Linked DNA regions of Homo sapiens: region 1 is linked to region 2. Evidence: promoter capture Hi-C in 16 types of primary human blood cells and fetal thymus (Javierre and others, 2016). All regions are on one chromosome and are shown on one strand. The core of a region is centred on a gene start or on the middle of the fragment in contact, and the rest is flanking DNA. Distances in the headings are between cores, read along the strand shown.

Region 1 (6,179 bases), core at 2,950-5,449, 2.2 Mb after region 2:
CCCATCCCGGCCTGTCACTCAGCTGCGTGACCGTGACTATCCCACGCAACCTCACGTGCTATCACCTGCAACATGAGCGCCCCCGCACTCCTGAGGACAGGTGTGGGAGGACTCGGCCTGTTCCACGCAACCTCATGTGCTATCATCTACAACATAAGCGTTCCCGCCCTCCTGAGGGCAGGTCTAGGAGGACTCAGCCTGTTGTGGGTGGTGGCCTGCCCTGTTTTCTCAGGCTGACCAAGTGAAGGAGATGGGAGGGAACAGGCACCAGGGCCACAGAGGGCGCACGGGGACACAGGCCCTGCCTTTAGGGTGCACCCTCTTGTCCACTCAAGACTGCAGAGGCATTTCGGAGATCTCACCGGTCAGACGGGCCAAAGTGTAGCCCCAGGCCCTGGTGCCTCATCTTCCATCACAAACCCAGCAACCATCACTGCCAGGCAGATCTTCAGGAACCCAACAAGGTTTTGTTCTGCAAAGTACTTAGAAGTGACAGGCTTAAGCCAAATCTCCACAAACACTAGAATGACACTTGGTCACACCAAACAGTACAACTTTTGTTTCTTAAGCCACCTTCTTATAAGAAAAAACATTTATTTTCCCAGCCTTGAAAAAGCCAGTCAAGAGCTAAAGTTCAATCCAAATTTCTGAGGAAAACAAAGGTGCCCTGGCCTGTCCTGCTCCTTCCAGCTGGAGGCTCCTGGGAAGCAGAGCCCACACCTAACCATCCTCTCCAGCAGCCACAGGCATGAAGAACGCAGGGCGTGGCGGGCGCTGGCCAGGGGGACCAGTGGGAGAAGGCGGCTGGACACTCTAGGTAGAAGTGGGGGCCCAAGCCATGGCCTGTGTGCCCCCAGGGGATCAGCAGGATGACCTAAGTCACAGGTGATTGATCAGGGCCACAGGTGACTGATCTGAGTCAGGTCAACAGGGACATAAGAAAACATGAGAATGTTGACAACGGGAATGCCTGCATGCAGCCAGACCCCTGCACTGCCACGGGCAATGGGCGCCCTATCCCTGTGGGACAGCTCCACGCAGGGATGACAGACAGGGAGCCAGGCGCCAAGCAGACAGTTCTGAGCTGGCAGGTCTGGGCTGGGGCTGTGGAGAAGCAGGCATTTCTAACAAGGCCCTAAGTGGCCCTACTTTGAGAGTCCCAGCCTTAGAACAGCTCCGGGGACTCCTCAGTGCCAAGGGCCTTTCATCCCTTTCTACCCGGACTCTACCTCCCACAAGCCTCATGGGCACAGCTTGGCTCTCAGGACTGTAAACCAAAAATAAAATCCTGAGTCCCCTAACTGACTGAATTGAACCCCCTCTTGGCCAAGGAGACCCCAGGGCAACCTGAGGAAAGAAATTCCAGGCCCTGACGGCAAGGGAGGTCAGACACGCCTGGTTACATCACCTCCCTTTGGAGTTTAGGCAGAGCTGACCAGCGTGATGAAACAGAGATCACAGACAGACAGCACAGCCTCAGCAGCAACGACACCAAACTCCAGCCTGACTCGGGTACAGCACCACATGACAAATAGCACACCCTGCAGGAAATCAAAATATTTCACCCCCAAATACATTTATTTCCCTGACATATTTGAAATGGTCCTGCAAAGCTGTCTTTTGTGAGGGAAATTTGCATCTGTAGAGAATCTCCCTCCCTTTCTAGGTCTTTCCTGGATCTAGGAGACATTTAACGAGTCTGACAGCATTCAGGTCTGAAAAGAGACATTTACCCTCTATTCTCCCCAAGGCTGCTGCCTGTGAGGCTTCATCTACTTAACCTTGGCCTCCACAGCCCCTTTAGCTTAACTCAAGCATTTCTCTTTGCTGACTTCAAGTCTTTAGACAAAGCTTAACTCTTTCAATCAATTGCCAGTCAGAATCCACCTATGATCTGTAAACCTACCCCTTCCTATACCTTACATGTACTGATTTATGTCTCTCTGCCTATAACTTCTGTCTCCCTAAAATGTATAAAATCAAATTAACGTGACTGCCTAGAGCACACTTTCTTAGGACCTCTTGACACTGTTCCCCTGGCCATGGCCACTACACTTATTGGCTCAGAACAAACCTCTTTCAGTATTTTATAGTTTGGCTTTTTAGCCAACAGGACCCTCTGCCTGGGCTCCCTGAAGCCCTCTCCCTGCTGCCTGGTCAGGTCACCGCTGTCTTTCACTTTCAGCCATATCCTCCTCCAGTCTCAGTCTCAGGCACAAGCCTGTTCTTCCTGTCGTGACTGGGAAGACAGTCAGCCTCACTAAAGGAGGCTTACTGAGTTGAGTTCATCACACCACTGGGTATGGACGTTACTGTGTGGCTCTCAGGAGGGGCCTTCCTTCTGAGCTCCAGGGACAGTTCTCAAGGCTGCCTATGTGCTGCTTCGGTTACAGAATTTGCAATATTTGAATCTGGTACGATCTTTAGACTTCAGCGACTCAACTGAAAAAAAAAAATCAAAACCAAAACCCACAAAAAAAGTGACCAAGTCCTGCCAGGGCCACCTGCATTTTAATGAACATATCTGTTTCTGCCACTGAATAACACACAAGAACTGAAGGGTTCCCTACGTGATTGAATTACTTGTTTGTTTTCCTAAAAGCAGTGTCTAAAAACCCCACTGAACAGTTTTTCTGTCCATCTCTTCCAGTCTCTGACCTCAGTTCTGAGTCAGGTCAACAGGGACATAAGAAAACATGAGATCAAAGAGGAGGAATCCATTAGAATCAAAAGGCCCCAGCTCTCTAAGAGGAGAATGCATTTTAAAGATAACCATTTACAGTAACATACAAAAGCCCTACTTAGACTTGAAAAAAAGTTTCTTTACAAATCTGTTTGCGATGAGAAAAATACAGCAGGATTGGGTGTAAGGCATAAAAACAAAGGTGCAGGAAGAAAGAGTAGCAATTTGTTACAGATCTTGCCCACTGAAACATGTAATTTGAGGTTAGCACAACACAGGAAGTCCTGCCAAACCTCACTGGGTCGGGAGGACCTCCTACTTCAGTGATTTAAATACCATTTTAAGGGAAGGGTGTTGTGAATGCCCCCTCCCACGCCAACTCTAACCTGTAGAGCAGGCGAGTAACTTCGTGACTGGTTAACAACGTGCGACCAGATGAAAGCACTAAACAATAAAGTGCGGAACACTACCAGCAGTTTGGTGAAAGATTTCTCAAAGGCTGTGCATCTGTGATCAAGGAGCCCACCAATGAAATTCTTTGTAGAGTTAAAAAAATTGCTTTATAGGTTGTTTTGGGGTATTATAGAGAAGTCTCCAGAGTATTTGGACTTCTAAGTTGTGGGTTCACTTTGAGCACCCACTATATGGCCAGCGATCCGAACCAGAAAGTTAATGATGAAGGTTCAAAGGGAATGGGGTGGCTACGAGTGTGGAATAGGAATGAGGGATCCTCAGAGAACAGGAATTCTGGGCACTGGGGATGGGGTGTGTGGACGCTAGGAAACAGGTAGGGTAGGAGGCCTGGAAGGTCAATGAAGTTCTTGGGGCTCAAAACATAGGTATTTTGAGAGCTGGGATACGGGAGGGCTTCCCTATCCCCAAGCGTGCGGTGAGGGCTGCGGGAGAATGGTTTCATTTTGACTTCAGACAGCCCAACTCGTCAGGATCTAACGGGGATTAACTGGGAGAGACATGGGGAGCAGCTGGCTTAGTCTCCCGCCCCTGGAAAGGCCAGGGTTGGTCCGAGTCGGGTGCCTCTGTGGGGCAGGGACTGGCTCTGCGGTAAGGAAAGAAATACGGGGGAGGGGCCCCGGGACCCGCCTTCTGGGGCGGTCGCAAGGGGTCCCGGAAGGCCGCGGTCCCGGGGGTCGGGGGGTCCCCGCGCGGGGGCGCGCCTCACCTCGCACATCCCCAGCCAGGGCCCGCCAAGTGGGCGCGTAGCCGATGCAGTGGCCACACCACGACGAGTAGAACTGCACGAGCCACGCGGCCGAGCTGTTGGCGGTGGCCCCGCGCACGCTGCCGCTGTCCAGCACCCACACGGCGTCCTCGCCCGCGCGGTACAGCCGCGCCGCACCGCCCGCGCCCGGCCCCACCGCCGCCGCCGCTAGCAGCACTAGCAGCCGCGGCAGCCGTGCGGCCCGCGGCGGGGGCGAGCGCCGGGCTCTCAGCGCAGGTCCCGCTCCGATTCCCGGGCTGCGCGCCACCGCCGCCCCGGCCGCCGCCATGTTGGAAGTGCCGCCGGCGCGCTGAACTTTCACCCTGGCAACCACCGTCACGTGCGCCGGCGCGCCCGGCCCCGCCCCCGCGCGCCCAGTTCTGTTCCGCCCCGCCCCCTCACGTCTGACCCCGCCCTCTCTCCCCGCCCCCGCCCCCGCCCATGCGTGGCAGCCCCGCCCCCAAGAGTCTGATGACGCCATCTCCCCGCCCAGGCGCGGCAGGCTCCGCCCAGGCCCCGCCCCACCCCGCCGCGCGTTCCCCAAACCCCTTCCCTGAACAGGGCCAGGTGGCCACATTTAGCAAATGGAAGTGCACGACGCCAGGTTCAACGTGAATTTCAGACAAACAGTGAGTCGGTTTTTCAGCCTAGGTCTGTGCCATGCCTGAAATACAAATTTAACAAGACATTCTTAGACGTAAAAAACTATTCCGGGGTTCTTTTACTTGGCAACCCCACCTGGGGCTTCAGAGGGTCTGCAAGCCAGCCTCGACTTTTTAATATGATATTGGAACGCTTAGAAAATGCAGCAAAACATCCACTCAAAGTCAGATGTGTTGTGTGCTACCTTTTAGGATGTTCCAGTCGAATGCAGCTTCACGGTTTGGAAATGAAATCATATGACTTTTTTGCTTCATTGAACAGGATACCTGATTTTTTTTTTTGTTCCTATTCCTAATTTTTACACATGTCAAGATTTTCTCTGAACTGTGTGACCAAAACAAAACAAGGGAGTGGGCGAGCCTGGGCAACATAGCGAGAGCCCATCTCTTAAAAAAAAGAAAAAAGCCGGGCATGGTGGTGCACACCTGTAGTCCCAGCTACTTGAGGGGCTAAGGTGGAGGATGGCTTGAGCCTGGGAGCTTGAGGCTGCAGTGAGCCGTGACTCTGCCACTGCACTCCAGCCTGGATGACAGAGCGAGACCTTGTCTCAAAATAAATAGATAACTGTATTGTGGGGTTCTGTGTAAGATTTTGTTTAAAAGGTTTTGCTGCTAACAATGGTTAACCCCAGATGAGAGGATTCTCCCCAGAGGGCCCCTGGCCAAGGCGTCTGCTCCCTTTTCCTCACGTCCTGCGTCTCCCTGTTCATGTTTCCTTCCATCACCCACGTTTCCTGGCTTCTGCTCTGTGCCAAGCCCTGGAGACAAATCAAGAACAAAACCGAGCCCCCAGTGTCCCTGGCCTGCATTTGGGCAGACCCCAAACAAACCAACGCGTAAAGCAGCCACCGCGTGCTATGAAAAGCAATGAAGCCGGACACGGAAGCAGGTGCCAGCAGGGCTGCCGTACAGAGGAGGGTGGGGAGGTCTTTGAGAAGGTGACCCGAATGGAGAAGGAGGTGAGGGAGGAGGCACACATGCAAAGGCCCTGGGGCAGAAGGGTGCTGAGCACGCTGGAGGAACAGCAAGGAGCCGGACCTGGTGGGAGCGGAGCAAGCTGGGGGAAGCGTGGGAGGGAAGAAAAGCTGAGAGCCCGAGCGAGACCCAGGGGGCCTCACAACCTGGGCCGCAGACTCAGACTTTGATGCTGAATGGGGGGGTGGCCACGGAAGGATCGGTGCAAGGATGCAGCTCTGCCCTTCTAGTTGCAGAGTAGGAGGGGCAGGAGGGGAAGCAGGGGACCTGGGAGGGGCCGCCGCCTCCTTCCACAAGCTGGAGGGACTCCGGGGAGGGGTGAGAGGCAGTGCTGGTGGAGGGGTCGGCTGAGTCTGGGTGGAGGCAGAGGGTGTCACATTCGCAGAGTTTGGGCCAAAGCAACCAGAGGAATGGGGTTGCTTACGGCTGAGACTAAATCCTGCAGCGGCGAGATGGGAGAGCTATGCTGGGGAGGATGCCATGAGTTTGCTTTGGACCTGTTACATCTGAGCAGCCTTTTCAACCTCTAAGGGAGGTGTCAGGTCAGGGTTTAGAAGTGGGAGTCGAGTCTGGAGCTCAGCGCTTGAGGCTGCTTGAGGTCCCCCGGGGAGGCTGTGGGACAGAGGGGAGGGCCACACAC
Region 2 (5,525 bases), core at 1,606-4,105:
GAAAGGAGATGGGCAGGCACTCATTCACCCTTAAAAACCTTTTGTGCAGCCAGGTGCGGTGGCTTATGCCTGTAATCCTAGCACTTTGGGAGTCTGAGGCGGGTGGATCACGAGGTCAGGAGTTTGAGACCAGCCTGATCAACATAGTGAAACCCTGTCTCCACTAAAAATACAAAATGAGCCAGGCATGGTGGCACATGCCTGTAACCCTAGCTACTCGGGAGGCTGAGGCAGGAGAATCACTTGAACCTGGGAGGCGGAGGTTGCAGTGAGCTGAGATTGCACCATTGTACTCCGGTCTGGGCGACAGAGCGAGATTCCATCTCAAAAAAATCAAAATAAAACAAACAACAACAACAACAAAAAACAACCTTTTGTGCAACATAAGAGGCAAAAACCAAAATCCAAAACGTGAGGTTACAAAATTGACTTATCTCTAAGTTTTATGTATTGAGCTATCAGCTATTTAGGTATTTGTGAACCATCTTTGATTCAGAGGGTCTGAACAAATTTTATCCCTCGAAACCAGCCCTTACAATCTCATGCGTTTACCTCTTCTGCAATTGTCCCTGGGCCTAGAGGGAGGGTGTTTGATATCAAATCAGATTGGAGCCAATGGGATTTTAAATCATTTTCAGATTCTGGAGATATCAGGTAGAAAAAGAGAGGTAATCTTCATTTTTTACTTAATTGTTGTAGCTATAAAATAGCTTAAAAGGAAAAACAGCTTTTTGACTCTGGAAAACAAAACATAAGTAAATGTTTCGAACAGAAATATAAGTCCTATTTGGTTTTGACAACGACAGGAAAAGGAAGCTTACAGGTAACTAAATATTCAAATTATTTAGTTCAAGGCATAGAACAAATTATATTAGCTTAGAGGCAATTTTTTTTTTTTTTTTTTGAGATGGGGTCTCACTCTGTCACCCAAGCTGGAGTGCAATGGTGCAATCTCAGCTCACTGCAACCTCCGCCTCCTGGGTTCAAGAGATTCTCCTGCCTCAGCCTCCTGAGTAGCTGGGATTACAGGCGCCTGCCACCACACTGGGCTAATTTTTTATATTTTTGGTAGAGACAGGGTTTCATCATGTTGGCTAGGCTGGTCTCGAACTCCTGACCTCAAGTGATGTGACCGCCTAGGCCTCCCAAAGTGCTGGGATTACAGGCGTGAAAACCGCACCCAGCCAGATAGAGGTAAAAGTGTTAAATGGGTCTTTGAATACAGGCCTGTTCTTGTGTCTCTTGAAAGCAGTATAACTTCGGTTGCTGTCTTTTCCCAGGTCGGAAGACTGGGAGATCATGTAAGATTTAAACGTTTTCAAATTTGTTGAAACTGATTTATGGTCCAGCATGTGATCAGTTTTGCTAAACGTCCTGTGTAGGTACTTGTGAAGAAAGTGCGAGGCAGGCGGATCACAAGGTCAGGAGTTCGAGACCAGCCTGGCCAATATGGTGAAACCCTGTCTCTACTAAAAATACAAAAATTAGCTGGGCGTGGTTGCCGGCGCCTGTAGTCCCAGCTACTCAGGAGGCTGAGGCAGGAGAATCGCTTGAACCTGGGGGGCGGAGGTTGCAGTGAGCTGAGATCGTGCCACCACACTCCACCCTGGGTGACAGAGTGAGATTCCCTTTCAAAAAAAAAAAAAAAAAGAATGTGCGTTCCACAGCTGTGGGCTTAGTGCTCACACTAAGCATCTTCCTTGGATGTCTGTTATGCTTATTTTCTTTTTTTTTAGAGATGGGGTTTTGCTGTTTCGTCCCAGCTGAAGTGCAGTGGCATGATTATGGCTCACTGCAGCCTCGAACTCCTGGCTCAAGGGATCCTCCTGCCTCAGCCTCCCAAGTAGGTGGGACTCAGAGGTGAGCCACCACACCAGGTTCCATTATGCTAGTTTTCTTAATTGGCATTGGAGAAAACCATAAAATTAGGGGAAAAGGGTAGATACTAAAAGAGTGCTATTGGAGTATGATTGGAGGTGGAGTGAGAAAAGGAAATAGACCTTGCTTTCATGGGGCTGTTGAGGAGTCCAAATGAGCAGTATAGAGGCCTGGCTTGGTTGGATGAGATGGAGAAATTCAAGACCTATTTTTGAGATAGTAAGCCCGGACATTTAATTAATTAAAAATAATTGTATCAATTACTGAGAGTAAGAATACTAATAAAAGCAGTAACAGCAGTGGCAAAAGTAACCACACAAGCAGAAATACGAAAACCAAGATGATAAGACCATACAGTCCGGCAGTGTCTTACTAACAGGGTTGTGGGCGTCCCACTCCTTCTCTTCATCCTCCTCCAGCTCCTCCTCCACGTCTTCCTCCAGCTCCTGCTCCTCTTTCTTTTCCAGTACCTCCTCAGCCCCTTCTCCTCTGCCAGCCCCTCCTCCCACCTCCGCTCCCAGCCCCTCCTCCTTTCCCAGCCCCTCACCATCCAGCCCCTCCTCCTCCATCTCCTCCTCCTCTCTCAGCTCCTCCTCCTCCCCCAGCTCCTCCTCCTGCTCCTCCTTCTCCTCCACTCCTCCTTCTGCTCCTCCTTCTCGTTCAGCTCCTCCTCTCCCAGCCCCTCCTCCTCCTCCAGCCCCTCCTCCTCATCCAGCCCTTTCTCCTCTCCCAGCCCCTCCTCTCCCAGCTCCTCCTCCTCCTCCCTCCTCCTCCTCCAGCCCCTCCTCCTCCAGCCCCTCCTCCTCCAGCCCCTCCTCCTCCTCTTCCAGTTCCTATTCGGGGCGGGCCCAGCCCCTCCTCGCGGAGCGATCGATGGCTTGGGCTCGTCGCACACGCCTGCCCAGCCTCTGCGCTCGGCTCGCCAGGCCTGCGGCGCTGCCATGGAGACACGGCCCAGCGGCCGCCGGCCCCGCCCTGGGAGCCCCGCAGTGCGTCGCGCCGCTGCCCGCATCTCCGAGGCCCGCGACGAGCGGTGACTGGGGCGGGCGACGTGGGGGACCCGGGGATGCGGGCAGACGATAGGGGGCTGGAGGATGGGGCGACCCAGAGCGCGCGGGGTCTGGGGCGCGGGGATGGGGGCCGCGGGCCACGCGACGGGGACCCCAGGGTGCGCGCAGGTGGCGGGGACGCGCGATGGGGGCCCGGGAAGCTGAGGCTGACCTAGCGCAGGCATCCCAGGAGGGGAGGTCCCTGACGCTGCGCAGCTGGGAAGGCGTTCGGGAGTGGGTTGCGATGCTTCCCTGTTTGTTTTCTCCTGACATCGTTTTTGTTTGGGTCCAGGGGCCTCACGGGAGCTGGATGCTCGGAGCAGCAAGGCGGCCCTGGGGGCCCCTTCCGGTCCCGGGGCTGACGCCTGGCGGCGTCTCCGGGAACCCGCGCCCTTTCAAGCGCCGCTGGCTCCTGTTTCACAGATGGAGACCCTGAAGCCCCAACAAGCAGCCTCCCCAGCACCTCCCAGTGACTGAAAAAGCTGGCACTGGGCGCCCGTCTCACTCTCCACCCAGCTCCCAGGCTGCCCCACGGGACGTAAGTAGCTCGATCTAGGCCGCTGACCCCCAGAGACTTGATGCTGCGCTGCAGACTGCCGCCGCTGCCGGGGCGCTTGACTTCCCCTCTCCTGACAGCACGTTCGTTCCTTTGCAGCAGCACCTTTGGGGAGAGACGAGACCTGAACAAACGCTGGGGCTGGATCCCCAGGGTGGGTCAGAACAGCCGTTGCCCTGAAAGCTGGCCCGGACAGATGCGTGCGGGGCGTGCCACCGGAGCTCCTTCCAGCTTGCGTCTGGGGCCACCATGTCCCTTCCTCAGGGCACTGGATCCATCTCTTCAAGCTCAGTGGTCCAGGCCATGGTGGCAGAATCACCCCCCAGGGTGTGACGCCTCGTCCCTGTCAATTCCACACAGCTGCACCCGGAAGAGCTGTGGCCGGGCGCCGCTCTGACCTGTGTGCGGTCCCCTGAATGGGTCTCAGGTGTCTTCAGAATGGTGAGGCCGCCTCATTTCCTCACCACACAACCCTCCTGAGGACGTTGCCTGCAAATGGGCGGAATTCCTAATTTCTACCATTCAGTTAAACGAGGGATCCTTAAGCCCCAAAGCTGGGAAAGCTGTCCGTTAATTTAGTGCGCGTGGGCCGTCTCAGAACAGCAGGGTTCCCAGGAGTCCAGCGGGACGGGGGAGGGGATGAGTGGCCGTGTCCCCCTGGCAGAGAAGGCCTTGTCTGAAGGCTACGCCCGCCTCCGGTACAGGGACACCTCCTTGCTCATCTGGCAGCAGCAACAGCAGAAGTTGGAGTCGGTGCCACCTGGGACGTACCTGAGCAGGAGCCGAAGCATGTGGTACTCACAGTATGGAAATGAGGCCATCTTGGTCCGAGACAAAAACAAGCTCGAGGTCTCTAGGGACACAGGGCAGTCCAAGTTTTGCACAATTATGTAATTCCGATGTGAGCACCTGAACCCAGGACCACACTTTGAGGAAAACAGACCTGAGTTTCATTCAGTTGTCTTGTTGATTTCCAATCCTTGCTGGAAGATTTTGAATAATGAACGTGAAGATCAAACTGTGGTGTAAGAACCCAAGAAGCGCAGAATTGGCCCCCGAACCCCTCAGCACAGCCGCGGTGTGACTGGTGCACAGGACACTTCCCCTCTAGAGTCCCCTCCGTGGTCAGCTGTTGTGACATTTGAATTCTCCAGGTGCTGCTAGGGACAGCATAGGCCCGGGCACTGCTAGATGCTTGGTTTAAACCAGGCCAAGAGTAACCCTCCCATCCCCATTACAAACCACCTTTTCAAGTTTTTTAGGTTTTAGTTTTTTGTTTTTAGCATAAATGGCGGAGTAGCAGCAGCATCTCACCAGGAGCTTTGTCGCATTACATTTTGTATTTTGCTTTTTTGAGACGGGGTCTCACTCTGTTACCCAGGCTGGAATACAGTGGCACAATCACAGCTCACTGTAGGCTCTATCTCCTGGGCTCAGGTGATCCTCCCAAACTCAGCCTCCCAGGTAGCTGTGGCTCCAGGCGAACTACTGTATATAGAGACAGGGTTTCCCTATGTTGCCCAGGCTGGTCTGGTCTTATAGTCCTGGGCTCAAGCCTCCCAGAGTGCTGGGATTACAGGCATGGGTCACCGCACCAAGCCCGCATTTATATTTTGAGTTACCAAAATGATCATCATCTGTGAAGCATCATGGTAGCTTCCAAGCATTTGCGGCCCACTGGCCAGTGCATCCAAAACACATTCAGGAAACCCGAGAGTTGTAAGTTGCACATGTGTGGCCTACAGTGACTTCCATGTAGTAACAGGGCTGAGCAAGGCAGGCTCTCCACCAGACTTAAAGCATTCAACCACTCTGCCCCCAGGCCGACACTGACATGTGTTCACTGTCGCTGCCACAGCTGGCCACCTGTGTTCAGTCTCCATGAAGGATTCACCTTCTGCTCTCACTGACATCTCCTTGGCTACACAAATGTGCAGGTGTCTCTTGTCAAAGCTAATTTTTCTTTTCTAAATAAACATCCTTTAATACACTCCTCCCCTTCCTCACACTTATTTTTATCCTTGTTCGTAATATCCTACTTG

The links. Contacts are between HindIII fragments. The CHiCAGO score rates a contact against its expected background, and 5 or more counts as called.
Region 1: the fragment with the promoter of QSOX2 here is called in contact with the fragment with the promoter of BRD3OS in region 2 in 2 of 17 cell types (neutrophils and monocytes); the score reaches 6.9 in neutrophils.

Annotation. Positions count from the first base shown.
Region 1 is chr9:136,241,613-136,247,791 of GRCh38, forward strand. It overlaps QSOX2 (quiescin sulfhydryl oxidase 2), which reads right to left and starts at 4,200. Exons shown (of 12, transcript NM_181701.4): 1 at 3,864-4,200. The coding sequence starts at 4,191. RefSeq lists silencers at 3,728-4,137, 4,168-4,437. The HindIII fragment of the contact is 4,512 bases long and covers 1,850-6,179 here.
Region 2 is chr9:134,022,626-134,028,150 of GRCh38, forward strand. It overlaps BRD3OS (BRD3 opposite strand), which reads left to right and starts at 2,856. Exons shown (of 3, transcript NM_001355256.2): 1 at 2,856-2,911; 2 at 3,220-3,465; 3 at 3,583-5,525. The coding sequence starts at 4,123. The coding sequence ends at 4,377. RefSeq lists silencers at 2,290-2,419, 2,730-3,149. The HindIII fragment of the contact is 9,456 bases long and covers 815-5,525 here.